Linked DNA regions of Homo sapiens: region 1 is linked to region 2. Evidence: promoter capture Hi-C in 16 types of primary human blood cells and fetal thymus (Javierre and others, 2016). All regions are on one chromosome and are shown on one strand. The core of a region is centred on a gene start or on the middle of the fragment in contact, and the rest is flanking DNA. Distances in the headings are between cores, read along the strand shown.

What was found. Contacts are between HindIII fragments. The CHiCAGO score rates a contact against its expected background, and 5 or more counts as called.
Region 1: a contact is called between a fragment that was not itself captured here and the fragment with the promoter of UBE2D1 in region 2, in 2 of 17 cell types (monocytes and activated CD4 T cells). The highest score is 6.3, in monocytes.

Annotation. Positions count from the first base shown.
Region 1 is chr10:58,282,400-58,286,063 of GRCh38, reverse strand. The region is part of intron 2 of CISD1 (CDGSH iron sulfur domain 1); the gene reads right to left. Among named protein-coding and RNA genes, the nearest start is that of CISD1, 15 kb to the right of the region's middle. The HindIII fragment of the contact is 761 bases long and covers 1,566-2,326 here.
Region 2 is chr10:58,333,430-58,336,821 of GRCh38, reverse strand. UBE2D1 (ubiquitin conjugating enzyme E2 D1) reads right to left here and starts at 1,816. Exons shown (of 7, transcript NM_003338.5): 1 at 1,597-1,816. The coding sequence starts at 1,620. RefSeq lists a silencer at 1,432-1,951 and enhancers at 1,759-2,053, 1,652-2,152. The HindIII fragment of the contact is 6,404 bases long and covers 1-3,245 here.

The sequences.
Region 1 (3,664 bases), core at 697-3,196, 51 kb after region 2:
CCGGCTAATTTTTTGTATTTTTAGTAGAGACGGGGTTTCACCGTGTTAGCCAGGATGGTCTCGATCTCCTGACCTCGTGATCCGCCTGCCTCGGCCTCCCAAAGTGCTGGGATTACAGGTGTGAGCCACCGCGCCCAGCCTGTTAACTTTATTAAACTTTATCACTTTATTCCTCCAGATAAGCTTGAGAATGTTTTTTGCCAAGTTTTAATTTCTTTTGTAGTTTTCATCCTCAGATCTCATGTATATTCTGGTAAGATTATTTCTGTCATATTTTTAATCACTATTATAATTTATTTTCATATCTGAACATTCTTGCTATATAAAATCATTTTTAACAAGTATATCCTCTATTGTAAAATGAAAAAATAAGAATTTAATAATATTTCACTTAACTCTTCAGGATTTTACACTTAGAAGGAATAATTATCAGTAATTTTTTTGTTTCTCTATATTTGTATCTTTTATTTCTATTTCATGTCAAATGACAAGAGCTAGCATCTTTGCCTTAATCTTGGTGTTTTGAATGTATCTACACTCTAGAATCTAGAGTTTCACTGTTTAGTCTAAGGTACACTGTTGCTTTGAAGAAGCCTATTTAGAAGAGTAAAGTAAGAGGATTCTTAGCCTTATGAGTAACAAGTACCTCATTACGTGCAGTGAAGGGAGCATAACAGATCAGTGAAACTTCACAATGATGGTATTTAATCTTAAACTTTGATATCCAAAAGGCTACTTAATGTTAAAGTAATCAAATTTTAATCTATCTGTAAATAATTGCAAGAGGCACTAAATTAGCTAAAAATTACAGAAAAACTCAAGGTATTGGCATATCTTATATTTCCAGATATAAATTCTATCCTGTCGTAGAGGGCAGTGTAAATGTAATATATGTAAAGTTTATATTATTTCTTTTTTTGAGGTCAATAAGATGTGGTACACAGTATATTCATATTAGAAACAAGCCTTGATGCAAAAACATAAAGTCAAGCTTTCAGTTTTTTCTTGGCATGGATGAGGAAAGAGGCGATAAAAATTAAACTAAAATGTATCCCACAGCAAAGTACAGCATTTCAAAGTGACATATGTTTAATAAACAAACACAGATGATTTTACAGTGAGCATAAAAGTTTACATTGTAAAGACTCTTTTTATAAATAGCACACACAAAACACTTCACTATAAATTAAATCCATGCAGGCAACATTTCTGAAAAATGAAATATTTCTAAATAACTTACTGAAATGGCATGTTTAACTTTTATTTTTTAATCTTATGTTGAAAATATTAGAAACTAACATTTTCTCAAATTATTTTCCTCCATATACAGAATAGGAGAGAAATCTATAGAAAAAATATACAAAGAAAATCTTACAAAATATAAAGAAAGTCATATATCAAAAGTGAGAATACATTTTTTCTCATCACCCAATTCTGCCTAAAAACTGAAATTAGCCTGTTTCTTCATATTCTTAAAAGCAAACACATATTTCTTTAAAAAGCAATGAGTAGTTTATCCTGGTTATTTGTTAATAAACTTTCATGCGATTAAAGTGTATAAAGCTTTTATGCCTTTATAATGCAAACTAGGTGTTAAAAATAATTTTGTGCAGAGACGTATTTTTTAATAGTACTTTTTATATCACTTAACCCTAGGAATTACTGCCTTATGTGTCTTGCTTTATTTCTGATCTATGCAGGAGAAAGATAATATGTGGTGGGTATACAGTTTTTTTTTTTTTTAAGAGATTAAATTAGATTGCACAGTGGTGCAATCGCAGCTTACTGAAGCCTCAATCTCCCAGGCTCAAGGGATCCTTCCATCTCAGCCTCCTGAGTAGCTAGGACTATAGGTGCATGCCATCACACTCAACTAATTTCTGCATTTTTTTGTGGAGACAAGGTTTCACTACATTGGCTGTTACATTCTCAAAGTGTTGGAATTACAGGCCTAAGCGACTGTGTCTGGCATTATATACTTTCAAATACAATGTAGGAAGTACAGTAATTTTTACATTAAATAATGTACAAAAATATGAGAATTTTATTAACTTTTTCATTAAACATTTTGAAATTTGTTAAATTGTTTTAAATTATGAAAAAAACACAAAGAATATTAAATTCAGTTCGTGTAGTATTGATACTTAATTTATTCTAAGATGTCAGCGTTTGTTTATTAACAAATCCTGGAAAAAGTCTGTAAATCAAATTTCCTTTATGTCCAGAAAACATCCTTTTATGTTTGTTAACCCAATTTGAACACTACAAATCCCAAATATCTTTAAAAGTGGGGGAAGAAAGGGTTAGAAGAAGTTGGAATAAAGCTTTAGTAGAAAAAACAGTGGAGGTCCTTGCTCTCCACCTGGAAAGCTAGCAATGCTATATGGATCTTCATAAAAACACAACATTTCTTTTTAATGGCCCCACATCTCAAGTTATGCCTCTGTTTTAATAAATGCTCCTCTTTGACTTATCTCTTCCACCTGAAACAATTTTCTTTTAAAGACTATCTTCCTTCTCTGAACTTCGTACTTTGTATTAGAGTTTTGATTTTCTGTCCCAAGGAAGTTGCCTGGCACCATTTTGGCTCATTACCATAAACTGTCCAGAAAAATATGCTTGCTTTGGTTGAGAACGAAAACGAAGTAATGAGATTTTTGAGACTAACCTAGAGATTATGACATTTTATACCATTCTTATGTACCTATTTCAATAAACCTAAGACAGTAGCTATAATATGAAAATGTACAAAGATAAATTAAGATTTTTATAAGACTGTCTTTATGTGGATTGGCCAAGGAATGTCACCAACATTCAGAATATCGTTTTTATGAAGAAAGACTCAGTAAAATGCACTTCTAAGCCATTAACAGGATGGAGGATTTCTCTTTTTCCCCCAACACCCTCCCGCCAAAAAAAAACACCCAGGATCAAGCCTACTACCAACGACAAAACAAAAGTATCATTAACTCAAATCTTACCCTGTAAATGAAAGAAAATGAGTCTAAACATGTCCAGTTGCATTTCATTTCAATTTCAGTTCAGCTCCTGATGTTAACTGGTAAGACTTTCCTCTCTTTCTTCTTAGTCTGTATTCTTTTGCTGTCCTTGTTTGAACTGCCTCCTAGGTGGCCGTCATACAACTCAGCAAGTGATGTAACCAACCTGAAGTTGCAGGGAAAGGAACCTAGCAATACTACATCCCATACCCTTCCCTCTTACATCAGAGTCCTTTCATCTTCTTGTTTCGAAAGTAAGACTATCTCTTCCTTTTTAAGGCTGAGTTTCACATCTGTGCTGTTACTCTCATTTCCTTCCACCCTTTGTCAAGATACCGCTGACTCAAATAGTATCTTTCCCTGTAGTCACTTTAATCATTTCCTCTATACTGGCTCCTTTCATTCTCACTTCAAATATGGATAGCCCTTTTGTGAAATACAATTGGCCCCATCTGTATCTGTGGGTTCCACATCCATGGATGCAACCAACTGCTGATAGAAAATACTCGCTAAAATAATTGTATGGGTACTGAGCATGTACACTTTTTTCCTTGTCATTATTCTCTAAACAATACAGTATAACAACTATTTACATAGCATTCACACTGTATTAGGTATTATTTGCAATCAAGAGATGACGTAATAATTTAAAGTATACAGGATTA
Region 2 (3,392 bases), core at 567-3,066:
TCTTGTATGTGCAAAATCATGTGAAAAATTCTCACAACTAGGAAAGAAGGAAATAGAATTTGAAAACTTCCTTGGAAGATGTGCATTTTCTGATCCAAATGTGAACCAATATTACTTCGTCATTAATAAGTATGCAAGGTATGGTAAAGATGCTAAGGCTTCAAAATTAGGGTATTTATATAAAACAATGTGTAATTGCGCTACCTTCAAACAAGAAAACATTATTACTTAATAAATGCTGATGCTGATTGTTAACTGTATGTTTTACAATGAGATGACCTTTAAATGGCACAAAAAATAACAGGTGATCCACAGATTTAGAATTTGAAAATAAAAAACTGGCAGGCTCTAAAAGTTGCTGTCCTCTGTACCTAAAGATGTCACCAGTGGCGAGTCAGAATGCAATGCGTACGTCACTATCACTGCTCTAACATATACTATTGCTATAATGGACTCCTGGTCAAAAAAGTGGATAAAAATGTGGGCATCAATTTCTTCTGAAACAACTACAAAATACACTGTCCATTGTTGCTTAACTTAGTGAAAAGCACTCCCTATTTAACAAACACATTCTCAATGTTGCCAGTGTGAACTGTAACTGTAAAACCTAAAACTTGGGTCAGTACACAGACCAACAAGAAATAAAAATGAACAGAAAGAAATGCCCGAATCTGAATTCTGAAGGATGTTCGCATCTGAAATGGTGGCAATAAATACTGTGAAAAAAAGACGATTCCATACACAGGGTTGAGATGGGTAAACAGTTGTTGGATGAAGATATATATTTCTTCCTCATTCTATACCCATGTGTCAAAGCATCAAAACAATTTATTTGCGACAGTTTATGTTGTGTCTCGAACTTTACATCTAAGTTTATCATGAGGGGGAAAAAAACCTGTTTGGCTTGACTCACCGTGAATCACAGCCAGGAGGTCATCTTGTTGTGTATCAGCAACTATGTTTTCGCTACAGCTATGTGACCTGAAGTGGCAGCAGCAGAGGCACCAAAATAGAAGGGGCAGGAGCCTTCTCCTGACTTCTTGGCCGCAAATGGGCTTTCCAGCCCATTCGGGCAACTGAGCAAGAGCCAACCGCAGAGGAGAGAAAGAACCAACCCGACAGCTCCGCGGAGAAAGGCTGCAGGCCCACCCCACCTTCCTTGCCCTCCCGGGGAGGCCGGGTAAGCAAGAACATAAAAGAGGACAGGCTTAAGAAACAGCCTGGAGAAAACACAGCATGACAGGGGTCAAAACTAGCCCCATGGAGGGCAAAACCCGGCCGTGACCGTGAAGCACAGATTTCGGGACGGTCTGGACGCGCAAGAGGCTCTCTACCCTGGGGCTCCGGGAGCGGCTCCGGCGCGAACGCGCGCGGGCCCCCAGCCTTCAAGCTCCTCCGGCCGCCTGGGACCTGACCCTGCTCCCACCTCACCTGTCCGATGCCCGCTGGCCCGGCCCGAGCCTTCAGCTCCCTGCCCGCACCCCGGCCCACCCTTCCATCCCTTGCTCTCCCCGCATGTCTCTCGGGACCACTGGCCGAGTCAGCGTGGGCAGGGGGCCGCTGCCCCGCAGCCCCAGGCCCGGCCCCGGCACTCACTTTCTGAATCCTCTTCAGCGCCATGGGTCAGGGATGGCGGTGGGGACACCGGCCGGCAGGGGTCGGCTGCGGGGCTCAGGGGCGTGGGTCGTCGCGGGTTGGGCTCGCTGGCAGCTAGGCTGGCTCCGCGCGGTGGGTCCCCGGTTAGCCGCTCCCTGGCTCGCTCCGGGCGCCGGTCCCTGCTCCGTGTGCGCCCGAGCGCGAGTGTGCGCGAGTGTGCGGGCGGGGACGCCGGCGAGACTCTTTTGTTTCCGCTTTTGCTTCTGGGAAGGAGCCTGCGCCCTCCCCGCCGCGCCCCGCCCCGCCTGGCACACTGGGAAGTGTAGTTCCAGCCCTGTCCTCGGCTGCAGGCCCCCGGACGCTGCCAGGTAACTTACTGCTGACCTCAGCCAGGCAGCTTAAGGTGAGAGCTGCCGGGGGCTGGAATTAGCCTCTACAGTCTCATTTAGAGCAAATTGCTGAACCTGGGGCTGCGCATCTGTAAAATGGGGATAACAAATGAGCTCCTAACGCACATAAAGGAATTTCTAAATCATCAGTTAGTAATTCCTTATCCAATAGGTGCCACAGCTGGTTTTATTATTTTTACCTTTAAAGATTTCACTGTCTTTTCTCAAATATATGGATTGTCTCACTCACCCTGCACACATGCACAAACTCATATCAGACCCCCTACTTACCTCCTTGGTTCTTATTGCAGAGGAAAAAGGTGTCTCTTCTGTCCAATGTGCAAATCTTCCTTGTCTGAGTGCATTGTCTGCTCGTAGGTATGCCCCTCCCATAAATTACCCACTTCGAACACCGAGTTCTGGGCTCTCACTCCCATCATTGGTTCCTTCCCTTCCGTTGACAGTCCCTGACCAATAGTCAACTCACGCTCCCCACTCTCCAATTCCTATGCACTTGTGTACCCATTAAAACTTGGCTTCTTGGCCAAGATGAGATTTGGGTGGGGACACAGCCAAACCATATCACTCAGGGATATAAAGATGGCAACAAATAGACACTGTGGACTACTAGAGAGGGGACCGAGGGAGCAAAGGTTGAAAAACTGTTGGGTACTATTGTCAGTACCTGGGTGATAAAATCATTCATACCACAAATGTCAGCATCACACAGCATACCCAGGTAGCAAACTTGCATATGTGGCCTCTAAATCTAAAATAAAAGTTGAAAAACAAAAACAAACAAACAAAAACAGAATCTTGAGCCCCACTCCAGACATGCTACATCACACTTTGCAGTTTAATAAGACTCCTAGGTGATTCAGATGAACATTAGGGTTTGAGAAGCACTATGCTGGAAGGCATAAGAGGAGATCCTAAAAATGCAGATTTCCTTTAAAGGATTTAATTTAGCAGTAAGTTTTGGGTGAAGCTCTGGAGTCTAAACTTTAGAACAAACTTCCCAGGAAGTTAGGATGCAGGTATCTGAGGACACTTTTGAGAATCTCCACCTTGAGCAAATCTTCAAATCCTTCTAAGCCTCAATTTCCTCACCCATAACTAATGCAATAAATGTTGTATTTGTTTAAAGGGAATAGAGCTGAAACTTTTGGTGCCCTTCTAACTCAAAGGTCTATGATTTGCACAAAAAATGGTGATTTTTTTCTCTTCTTTATAAATAGAAAGAAACCTAAAAAGTAAGCTTACAAGATTATTTTTGTCTTTCCTAGGGCAGTTTACCTCCCAACAAAAGAGAAATTAACACTTATTAAAAAAATCTACGTTGGTATCTTGCAATAATAGTTTACACTTTAAGATTGCTTTAAATGGGCTGGGCACAGTGGCTCACGC